Regions from separate parts of the Homo sapiens genome. Here all the other regions are linked to region 2. Evidence: promoter capture Hi-C in 16 types of primary human blood cells and fetal thymus (Javierre and others, 2016). All regions are on one chromosome and are shown on one strand. The core of a region is centred on a gene start or on the middle of the fragment in contact, and the rest is flanking DNA. Distances in the headings are between cores, read along the strand shown.

Region 1 (4,232 bases), core at 211-2,710, 290 kb before region 2:
CAACTGAGCCTTGGAAATTGACTAGCTCAAGGTCCCTCAGTGAGTAAATGTCAGAGCCCGAATTGAAAGTCAGGGCTGTCTCACTCCCAAAGGGTGCTCCTCCCTTGTTTTATAGCCAGCAGCCTGAGGCTGACTGTGCCAAGTGCCAAATGAATGTAACAACTATTCTCCTCTGAGAAGTCAGCTCTTTGAGGACAGACGGAAGCCAGCCTCCTGGGAAATGAGCCTAACAGGTATAGAAGGGGCAGCCAACACAAGAGTCCTCTGGGACCCAGAAGAGAAAAAAATTTAGGCTCAGGCTGAAAAGAAAAAAAGACGGCAGCAACAGCCAAGTTACCCTGAGGAGGGCATATTCAGGGAACATCAGAGGCTAGGCTAAGGCTAAGCTTAGGTGGTCCAGTTAGGACCTAAAGCAATGGACATTTACCATGAATCTTTCATGCCGGGGACGATGCTAGAGCAAATGTGAAGTGTTGGCTGTGGTGAATAAATGAGCAAATGAAGGCACTGGTGGTAAGTGCTGGGGTATGACAATGACTAATAGCAAAGGGTGTGAGGGAGTGAAAAAAATGCGTGCGCTGAGACAGAGGCCTGGATTTGAATCCTGGCTCTTGCCTTTATATGACCTTGGGCAAGTTCTTTATCCTTTCTGTGCCACAGTTTTCTCCTGTGCAAAATAGGGATTAAAATGGCATGTATCTTTCAGGATATCACAAGGAATATGTAAGATATTATACATCAAGTGGTTAGAACGCTGGCTGGCACATTGTAAGTACTCAGCATTTGCTGGCTTTGTAGAAAATAAGGCTTTGAGAAGCATCTAATATTGTGCCTGGTACCTACTTGGCAACCCATAAGTGGTAACTCTTACGATTAACAAGGGACAGCTCCCATCCTTAGAGTGATACTGCCTCAGGGTAATCTGTCCCTCGGTGGATTGAAGGAGCAGTGGACCCTGACCCTGCTTAGCAATAAACAACATTTTATGTAACTCAATCAAAGTACAAAGGGTCTTCATGTACTCTGCCCATTTCATGACCCATATGAGATTTAAAAAGCCACAAAAACTGTGTGGCTCCAAAAGACATTTCTGTACAAAGACCTGAGTTCAAATGGCCAACCTGCCACTAATACACTCTGTGGCTGTGAGAAGCCCCTTCCTCTCCCCAGGCTGGCTCCTGGGCCTACAGCTGAAAGGATTTGCCTGCCCAGGCTTTATGGCCCTTGCAGCTTTGATAGTCCTGCATTCTCTTTTGCAGGTCAGAGGAGAGACAGGCCTCGACCACGCAGTTTCAGTGACTCAGGCTTCATGGGAGAGTAAGAATGTGAAAAATCCATCTCTCCCTAATTGAAATCTCAAGATACATATTTCCTGTCAGTCCTGGAAAGAAATAGCAGAAAATCCATCATCCACACATAAATTGTGTCAATTCCCTTGTCCTGTACAAGTTACTTTGGGGCACAGGGCCCATCAGTCACAGATGGGACTTCCCATCTCACAGCTGTGTGACCATCAGGAGTACACTGCTGCCTTCCACCCCTGCTGTCCCTAACCATGCTGGCACATCAAAAGGCCTGTCCTGAGGCTCAGCAGGTCCCAGGCCAGGCAGGCATGAACACAAGACCCAAAGAAGGGGAGATGCTCCCCAGAACATGTTTCCTTTACAAGTCAAGACCCCTTGGAGATTTAACAACCTACAAAACAACTGCCTACAGGTAAAATAAGAGCTTCCAGGAATTCTAAAAAGGAAACACTCCTTTCACCAGCATCAAAACACTAATATCTTCTCAGGCAGATGAAACCAGGGGTCTGGAGGCCAAAGTGGAGGCGCCAGGTGTCCACTGACACCTACTACAAAGATTTTCCTTGCTTTTCTCTCAGCCACAGGGGGCTCCTGGGCCCTCCAACACTTTTTCCCACCGTGAACCTGACTCCTGATGGTCTGCTTCCTAGGCTCTGAGTACTGAAGTTTCCCCTCAGTCCCAACCACCTGCCCCAGGGAGGACCTAGAGCAGCAGACCCCCTTGCTTTGACCTAGCCCCTCCCTCCATAGCACTGACACTGGTTTGGCTGAGGCCAGCTCAGTGATGTGATCCAGAGAAACCTGGGGCTCCTACTGAAATTACAGCAAACCCAGGGGTGCAGGACAATGTGTCAGTAAAGTAACCTAGTGCCCTGGAGTTGGGCTAGAGCAATCCCAGATTACTGTGGGGTTAACTTACACTGGATAAATGCCAACTCTCTCTCCTCTTCCCCCAGGATGGGAAAGGCAGGCAGCTTGACAAGGACAAGCGTTGACCAGCAATGCTAGCAGAAAAAACCACTTTCTAGACCTGGAGGAGATACGTAGAGGCCATATTTCCTGTAGACAAGCCAACGGGAATTATTTTTGCTTCTTTTTAATGTAAACAGAATACACAATCACATTAAAAACCCCAACATGACACAGAATACACACAGAATTATATATAGATATTTACAGGCCCTCGAAAGCCAAAAGGAAAAATGGCCCCTCTGGTTAAGGGAAGCTTCTCTTCCTACCTTGTCCCTGTCCAAAATCAAAGTGCTGAGGCAGCTGAAGGAGCCTCCGCAATTACTTCTGGATATAATGTAGCAGGAGGCTGGAATAACATCAGAAACACCCCACCCCCACCCCAGAGCACAACCAAGATACCGACTTTCTGGCCCTGGCCCTAATCCTAAACTCTCCTCCTTTGCAAGCTGACAAAGCAAGGATTTGTATGTCTCGAGAGGCATCAGCATGACCCCTGAAATTCAGATGCACGGCGGAGGGGTTCCCATCCCATTCCAGCTTTCCCAGCCTTGGGCTGATTGTGAAATGAGCCAAAACCAACCATATCCAAGAGAGGAGGGTGGGGGAAGTAAAGGAAGAATGGATCTCAGGCAGAGATGACTGCTTCGGAGCAGGACCCTGGGAACCAAGGGGAGGTCAAGCTGGGCTCACCCAAGCCCAGGACAGACTGCGGAAGACACAGTGGGGCTGTGCTGCCACCTGGTGGGGGATGGGAGCACTGCAGCAATGAACTAGGACAGTCCCACAGGTACCTTCAGATCATCTTTTCTCTCCATTTCAGTCCCCTAACCAACAGCCTCACTGCAGCAGCTCTTCCCAGGAAATGGGCTTGGAGAAGACCTCCCTTTCTAACCAGAGGTCATAGTTCATCTGAAAGTCCTCAGGGAGGTCCACCCGTTGGCCCAGGACACTCTGCAGGCAGTTGTCCACTGGCAGGAAGTCAGGGTTGCTGTGGGCCCGGTCATAGCGCCGGGCGTTGAAGCGTTCAATGTTGGCACGAAGGGCACACTCCTCTGCCTGGAAGTCCCAAGGCCGGGCATCAAGATCTGAGACAAAGCAGGAAGAAACACCGTTAGGAGCCATGCCCTGTAGCAGCTCCCCATGGATTCACTGGCCAGGAATATTGAGTGTCAACTAAGAGCAGGATACCTCCGAGCTCATCCTCAGAAAGATGCCAGGAATTCCTTCCTAGATCCAAAGGAGAGTCAAGTACAAGCAGAAAAGCCAGAGGTACTGAGAAAGAGGCTTATACTGTAGGGATTATGTAGACCCAGAGAGGGAGAACCATGTGTACAACACATTTCTCTCAAAGTGGCATTCTCCCTGGCTCTCTGGGGTCAGAGGGAGGAACCTGGAGATCTTCTCCTTTGCTCATTCTCTCTCAACTCCCCAACCAGGTACCGTGTGCCACTGTGGGCCTGCACACATTCACAGGGCATTGAGAGTACAGACACAGTCATTCAGCCATGGTGGTATATTCCAGAAACGCAACAACGCAGCAACACGCACACACAGAGCAGCCCAGGTGGGCAGGGGAGACACACTGTGGGCGAAAGAAGAGTGCCTGCAGAGGCCTAGTAGTGGGAACCACACGGCTATGTTCAGGGACTGAGCACTCCCTGTGCCTGGAGCTCTGGGTATGATGGAGGCTGGACTGACAGCCCGTAACAAGGTTGAAAAGGAAGCTGGGTCAGATTACAGAGGAGGAGAATGAAAAAGGACGAGGGAGCCTCACATGCCCTGCCTGAGTCTGAATCTAATTCTAAGGGAAATAGGAAGCTAATGAAGGATTTTACTCAGGGAGGTAACAGCACAGGATCTGCATGTTGAAAAGATTCACTAGGGGGCCGGGCGCAGTGGCTCACGCTTGTAATCCCAACACTCTGGGAGGCCGAGGCTGGTGGATCGCTTGAACCC
Region 2 (3,905 bases), core at 719-3,218:
GAAATAATGAACTCAGCTTGAATTCCAAGGTGTCTGTAAGCCCTCCAGAGGGATCCTAGCACCTCTCACAGTGCCTAGCAGGCAGGAAGCCCTCAATTCTACAGGAAGTTGTGGAATGAATGAACGAATGTGGTCCCACAGCCTTTTAACCCCACAATTTCAAGGACATGCCCTTCGAGTCCTGCTTCCTTCCCCTCCAACCTAAGTCCCAGCTCCTGGTGCCTCAGCCGAACTCCCTTGCAGAAGAGCTGCTGTGGCACCCGGAGCTTTGTGCAGAAGCTTCAGTTATGGCCCCAAGTCCCCAGGTATGGGAAGCTTGGCCTCTCCCTCTTTCCTGATTTCCCTCTTCCCTCAGGGGGCTCCACAGAAGCAGATGTCCCCAATACCTGGCCCCAAGCCCCAGACCCACCAAGGCCACAAAGGCTTTATGTCTGAGGAGACACACACTGCTCCCAGGGGCACCCCTAAAGGGCACTGCAGAGGGCAAGGTGCTGGGAATGCCACTCATTGTTTCTCTGCCCCTGCCCACCTTGCCCCAGAGCCCCCCCAGGAGTCCCTGCTGTGCTCACACTGACTTGGGGAGGGTCCTATGGGAAGGACGGGCCTGGCCTGAGCTGGGCAGAAATGAGGTGTTGCCTGAGCCCCAAGCCAGGGCTGGGGTGAAATATGACTGTGGCCTTCACGGAGTTGGGGGAGGCAACGAGGGGACAGGCTGTGCTATCCCAAAAGAAGCTGAAGGGCCACAAGATGGGGACCCAGGGGAAAGAACCCCAGGACTGCTTCCCATGGGGCTGTGGCTGGGTGCTGGCCTCACAGGCACCTGATCCCTGGGCCCCAGCAGCTGGCTGTCCACTGGACTCTCCCAGGGACACACACAGCCCAGACAGGGAAGGCACCTCCCTAGGATCTGACGCATGGACTCCAGGCCATCCAGGGCAGCGTTGGTTGGGTGGTGATGGGAGAGAAGGCTGAGATATCCTGGGATAGTTCCAGGGAAGCTAAAGATGGGAGTGCTCCAGCCCTCAGACTCCACAGGACACTCCATCACAGGGCCCAGCACCGGGACCCTGCATTCTGCCCACGAGGGTCCGAGGCTCACTGGCACTCCCCCGCCCCCGCCTCCCCTCCTGCCCTGCTCCCTGGTTTCTGTTTATACCTGGCCTTGTTGGTTAGACTGTGAGTTCCCAGAGGGCAGGGGAGCCTGGCCCACTCTGAGTGCCAAGAAAGATTTTTCGATACCATGGAGTGCAGGAAGTGGGTAGGTTTATGACTAGAGATAGATGCAGGCCTCCGTTTTCCATCTTTGCTGAAGCTGGCCAGGCGTCCACCAGGGGTCTGGGCACAAGATGGGGTACAGAAGGAAAGAGAGTGGAAGAGCGAGAAAGGGCTGGTAAGGGGGCTCCTGCTGGAAGGGACAACAGTAGGGACAGAATGAGGGCCCTGCCAGAGGGAATCTCAGCGCTCCATGTAATGCCCCAGGGGCCTCAGTCCCCATCTTCTGTGACAAGATCCATGTCCTGCTCACAGGCACCACCCAGGTACACAGGATCACACACCTATGGGTGCCACCCACGCACAGGCATGGCACACACGCCAGCCCACAGCTTCCCCCAAGCCTGGAGTCCACCTCCAGCCGACCTGTGCCCTCACCACAGAACCCAGACTCTGGGCCATGTGTGCTCTCTTCTTCTGGTCCCAGCCCCGTGCCTGATGCTGACCTGTTCCCCAGAGTAGGCACCTAAAAGGCAGAGGGAAGAGGGGGCCACACCCCAAGGCTAGCAGTGGGGGAAACAGGGAAGCAGGGGCCTCTAGCTAAGCTGGGGACGCCAGTCAGCACAGACACTGCCGCAGGTCCAGGTTGATGTTGAGCGGTTAGTGACCAGGAAGCCTCCCCACCCACCAGAGTCCAAAGAGCACAGGCGTGGCTGCCTCTGTAACCTCATCAAAGGCAGGCTCTGCCTGTGGCCACTAGCAGAGAAGCTGCTGTCCTTCCACCACCAGCACCGGACCACCTGCTCCAAGACCAGCCTCCTGGGGGGACCAGGCACCCGGCCTTCACTGGCACCCAGGTAAGGGCCTGGCCCCCAGGGAAGATCGGGGCCCAGCCCAGTCACAGGGGATCTCAGGGCAGGTGGGGGCAACTCAGTGGCTTCCCAGGCCAGGTCTCCAGCCTGTTCCCAGCTGCAGCCCAGGGGATCAAGCCCAAGGAGGGGCTTGGGACTCAGCAGCTGGCTGGTGGGCTGGAAAGCAGAGCGAGGTCCAGGCTCCGGAAGGGCCTCTGGGATGCTTGCCCCAGGGTCTATGAGGTGATGGCCTTCCCTGCTCCAAACCCCTACATCTAGGGCTTAAAGGGGGGAAATGGGCTGTCACAGCTCCCCTACCCCTAAGGGGCAAGGCAGGCCAAGCCAGCTCCCTCTTCCCTCCCTGGGGTAGGGAATCTTTGGCTGCAGCTGTTTCCCCACCTTGACCTACCTACCTAGAGGGCCCCACAGGGCCCACCCTGGTGTTGAGGGAGTGGGGAGTGGGGCTGACCAGGGGCAGACCTCACTTCCTCTTCTGCATGGAGAGCATGGAGAAGCAGGAAGTGTTACAATGGGGGTTGGGGGAGGCTGGGGAAGGGGAACAGGCTTCTAGCCCCGCCTTACCCCTGGAGAGAAAAGGGGTCCTCCCAAACAAGGAAACCAGAGATCCAGCCGTCCCTTCCACATTCCCTTAATTGTTCACTGGCAGTTTATTTCCTTCCACACTGAGTCATCTTATCAGATCCTACGTCATTTTCACAACAGTCCTAATAAACAAGGGTATGGGTTGCTCTCTCACATGTTACCCGGGGTAGTCCAGTATTTCTGCACAACTGAGGTGTACCATGTAGACATGTGGATACCCACAAACCTCATTTGGATAACACATACCCTTGACCCGCACAGACTAACACCACCCCCACCCGGGACACACACACCACATTTAATTCCACTCCATTTCAACATGTATGTTCTCTAGACTCCCTCTGTGACTGCGCACAGCCCAGCGGCAGAGGCATGTTTATAAACCATTAAAACACGAAGCTTGCAATCGGACAGATCTGGGTTGCTCTCTATTAAACGTTCATTTGTGACCTCAGGCCTGTTACCGTCTTTGAGCCTCAGAGTCCTCATATGGTAAATGGGGACAATACCAGTACCTGCCTTGTGAGGTTGTTTTGAGGATTAGAGTGACTGAAGGTAACGCCGTTAGAACAGTGCTAGGCACGTGGCGCCAAGTAAGTACAAGTGGACGGCAGTGAGGAGAAACTGATAGGATGTTGGTAAGGGGCTCAGCACCAGGCTCACAGCACCGTGGTGGCTATTGTGACTATTGTTGCTGGAGATAAATGTACAAGGTCCAGTGCAGCATTAGGAGGGTACCCTGGGCAGGGTGGGGTTGGATGGTCCAGGAGGGCTTCACCAAGAGGGTGATCTTTGAGCTAGAATTTAAAGGGTTGGGGTCAGGAGGGGACCTGGGCAGAGGATACAGAGTACAAAAAGCAAAGAGCCAGGAGGCCTAGGGAGACACTTGGGGGAGGTCAGCTCACTGGCGAGTCCTGCAGTGCCACCATAAGTACACACACACATGCATGCAGTCTTCCCAGAGGGTCTACAGCTGAAGAGCCAGCATCAGCGTCCTCTCAGTTTGCAGAACTGAAACAGGGTCGAACAAGAGGGCCTCCTCTGGCGGGGTCGGCTACAGAACCCTCTGCTCATCCAGCATCTTTCATACCCAGGCCCAAGATAGGATCTGAACGCAGGTCCCTGTCCATCCAGGTTTCCTGGGCTCCTTGGCATGAGCTTTATCAGCCAAACCATGGGAGGCCTGGAGCCTTCCCTGAGGCCCAGCCATGCTGTGGCCTCCCTGACCCTCCCTTCCCT
Region 3 (3,715 bases), core at 112-2,611, 290 kb after region 2:
TTCAAGCCGGGTGCAGTGTCTCAGACCTGTAATCCCAACACTTTGGGAAGCAAGGTGGGAGGATCACTTGAGGCCAGGAGTTCAAGACCAGCCTGGGTATCATAGCAAGACTCCATCTCTACCAAAAAAAAAAAGTAGTCGGGCATGGTGGTACATGCCTGTAGTCCCAGCTGCTGAAGTGTGTGGATCACTTGAGCCCAGGGGTTCAAGGCTGCAATGAGCTATGATCACGCCACTGCACTCCAGCCTGGATGACAGAGTGAGACTGGATCAAACAACAACAAAAAAGTTCAGGCCGGGTGTGGTGGCTCATGCCTGTAATCCCAGCACTTTAGGAGGCCAAGGCGGGCAAATCACTTGAGGTCAGGGGTTCGAGACCAGCCTGGCCAACATGGCAAAATGCCGTCTCTACTAAAAAAAAAAAAATTCAGTTCAGTCACGCTAGGCACATTTCAAGTGCCCAATAGCCTCATGTGACTAGCAGGTACTATCTTAGAGAGCACCGATTCTAAAACTTTTCCATTATTACCAAAAGTTCTGCTGTGTCTAAACGACGGTCCTGAGGTTCTGACAATCCTGAATCATGCTTTCGGATTCCTCAGAGGGCAAAATACACCCACAATAACTTTAGTATTTATTGTATTCTGATTCTTTTCAAGTCAGGGATCTTACACGATGATTTTTTATTTACCAAAATATATGTTTAAATCTGAACACTATACAGTCGGATGGTACCAGAGCAAAATGAGAACATCTGAGGGGAATCACAGGTTCACAGAACAGCAGAACAAAAGGGACCTCAAAGATTCTCACACCCAATCATCTCATGTCACAGAGGGGGACTGTGAAGCCCCAAAAGATTAAGTCACTTTCCCAAAGTCACATTTAGTTAATGTGAGAGCCAGGCTTAGAATTCACATCTCCTGATTCCCTGTCCAGTGCTCTTTCCATTTCATTTGCTCATTAACTCAACACTGATTGAGCATCTACCTTGTGCCAGGTGCTGGAGATATGAAGACGAATAACACCTATCTCCTGCTCTTGAGAATTCACATCAAGAAAGGAGCGTCATAGCAAAACAAACAAACAAAAAATAATAAAAACAAACACTGCATCCCAGAGTTATTGAGGCTAAAGAAGAGATCTCTACCATGTGCATTGAGGATTACAAGGAGGGAAGGAGTAGCTCTGTGCCTTGGGGTGCAGAAGCTCAGAAAGACACTTTCTCCCAACCCCCTCCATGTCTCCTAACCCTCCATCTTTCCACTCCAGATTTGCTTTCTTCCCTAACTTTGCCAAGTGACTGAGACACAGAGAAGAGAAGGAAAGAACTAAAATCACCCCTGTCACCAAGCACAAGGCTCTGAGATGAGCAAACTGGTTATAAAGAGCAGCCAAGGAGAGGTAGAGGACCTGAGACAAGGGGGAGTTCTAGCATTCTGGTGCCAACCAGCCTTTCTCCTCTTGGACCTCCATTGCTGGGACAGCGACGGTCATTTTCTGCCCTCCGCCTCCTCTTGCTTCTGCATCTCTTTTGCAACCTTAAACCTTTCCAGTTTAAGGATGAGGCTCCCCTTTGGCACTGACATGCTCGCTGGTGATAATCCTGTGACAGTCCTGAGGACACTAACATCACCAGTTAGCTCAGAGCACAAGGAAGACAAATTCTCTCCCCAGGTCCTACTCCCACGCTTATCTCATTGTTTTTTGTTTTGTTTAGGCGAGGTAACAGGCTCATGCCTGTAATCTCAGCACTTTTGGAGGCTGAGGTGGGAATATCACCTGAGCCCAGGAACTCAAAGCCAGCTGGGGCAGCATAGCAAGACCCGATTTTTACAAAAATTTTTTACAACTTAGCTAGGCATGGTGGCATGTGCCTTTGGTCCCAGATACTTGAAAGGCTGAGGTGGGAGGATTGCCTGAGCTTGGAAATTTAGGCTGCAGTGAGATGTGTTCGTACCACTGCACTCCAGCCTCAGCGATAGAGCCAGTCTCTATCTTAGAGCCTGTCTGAAAAAAAAAAAAGATTTGATATTTACTCACTCAAGGTTCCAGAGCTAGAAAGCAAGAAAGCAGAGGGGACTCAATTTAAACCGAAGCCTATCTGACCTCAAAAATCTGTCTCTATCTTCCTTTTTCTTTTGTTTTATTTTCCTTTTTTTTTTTTTTTTTTTTTTTTTGAGACAAGGTCTAGTTCTGTCACTCAGGCTGGAGTGCGCAGCTCATTGCAGCCTCGACCTCCTGGGCTCAATGATCCTCCAGCCTCAGCCTCCCAAGGAGCTGGGACCACAAGCATGTGTCATCACACCCAACTAATTTTATTTTTTAATAGAGACGCGACCTCCCCTTATTGCCCAGGCTTGTGTCAAACTCCTGGGCTCAAGCAATCCTCCCACCTCAGCCTCCCAAAGTGTGTCTTTTTCTTAAAAAGAAAATTTTTTTTAAGATACTTCTTTTCTTTTCTTTTTTATCTTGAACTCCTATGATTTGATGTCCTTTTCTTTTTTAAAAAAAAACTAGTTCTCCAATAATTGGTCTATGTCCAGGTTATTTTTGCTAGCTTAGTATAGACTTAGTGAGACTCCAGAATTGGAATTGAGGTGAGATTAGTTGATTTCTCAATTAAAAAAAAAAAAACTCTAAGATAAGCTCCTGACAAATAAAAGAATAACATTACTTTCTTTTCACAAAGATTCCAGTAAAATCTTTGCTTTTTGGTAATAATGACAACAAAAGTTCTCAATTACCATTACAATAACTGCAAGCTTTGTGTTTTCTTTTTTCCTTCTCCAATCAGGAGCATTTGATCCCTCCAAACAGGAAATGAGTGAAAAACTCAAATGACATTTCCACTGTCATTTCTGGTGCTAATGCCTGTTTACTTTTTATGTTACCTCATCTGCAGAGCTTCAAAGCAAGTGAAACTGGCGCCCTGAATTCAGGCTACCTGGGATGGCAATAAAAGCAAAGCACGTTTCTTTGTGATGCTACCCTGTGAATGAAATCTGAATTCAGAGTCTAGCCCAGGGCCCAGGTTTTAGCATTCTGAGAGAAAAGGGTCTCTGTTTTGCACAACCCCCTTTCTAAGTACTTGAAGATCATAAAAGTCTATCAGATCTTAATTCCTAGGTCATTAGTGCTGACCCCAAGACTGCATCATTTCCCTGGGCATTGCTTTGTACAGCCTTTACAGAAATGTTGTGGGTATTTGGAGTGCTGCGTGGAGGGAAGGATGGCAGGATTGAAGAAGGAAGCTTTTCAGAATCCCTCCAAGGGAGAGGAGTCCATGGTCTAATAACCTCATTGTTTCCCTTATCCTTTGACAGTCTGTCTCAAATTCTGTTGGATCCATTTGTCTAATTTAATGGTAAAATTGCTTATAATGGCTCTTCCAGTTCTGGATGCCAGTCACTCAGAGCCTTAATATCATTTTTATATGGCTCCCTCTGGCACTTGAGTGGTGGATCAGAACAGGGAAGGGGCCAAAGGCAAAAGAGCTCAATCAGCAATTGGTCTAACCACTCTTGAGGCAGTAAGAAAGGTGGAGAGTCCCCACCAGGTCCCAGAGTTTGCACTTGGGAGCTCCCAGGCTGGCCCGATAATCCCAAATGCACTTTTGCCCCTGGGTTCCAGATTTGATTATTCTCATCCAAACCATGATTTAAGAACTGGTGTCACAGTGCTAATTCTTGTCTCCAAAGCCCTGTAGAACTCA

What was found. The method cuts DNA at HindIII sites, captures the fragments that hold promoters and counts their contacts. A CHiCAGO score of 5 or more calls a contact.
Region 1: a contact is called between a fragment that was not itself captured here and the fragment with the promoter of EPS8L3 in region 2, in 2 of 17 cell types (M0 macrophages and M1 macrophages). The highest score is 5.4, in M0 macrophages.
Region 3: a fragment that was not itself captured here is called in contact with the fragment with the promoter of EPS8L3 in region 2 in 1 of 17 cell types (M2 macrophages); the score reaches 6.7 in M2 macrophages.

The regions. Positions count from the first base shown.
Region 1 is chr1:110,052,794-110,057,025 of GRCh38, reverse strand. STRIP1 (striatin interacting protein 1) reads right to left here. Exons shown (of 21, transcript NM_033088.4): 21 at 2,385-3,361. The coding sequence ends at 3,114. Among named protein-coding and RNA genes, the nearest start is that of ALX3, 16 kb to the left of the region's middle. The HindIII fragment of the contact is 2,143 bases long and covers 389-2,531 here.
Region 2 is chr1:109,761,986-109,765,890 of GRCh38, reverse strand. It overlaps EPS8L3 (EPS8 signaling adaptor L3), which reads left to right and starts at 1,968. Exons shown (of 19, transcript NM_133181.4): 1 at 1,968-2,069. The region is part of intron 1 of LOC124904258 (a long non-coding RNA gene); the gene reads right to left. The HindIII fragment of the contact is 2,750 bases long and covers 318-3,067 here.
Region 3 is chr1:109,468,293-109,472,007 of GRCh38, reverse strand. All of the region lies in intron 2 of SYPL2 (synaptophysin like 2), which reads right to left. Among named protein-coding and RNA genes, the nearest start is that of SYPL2, 3.6 kb to the right of the region's middle. The HindIII fragment of the contact is 2,812 bases long and covers 1-2,767 here.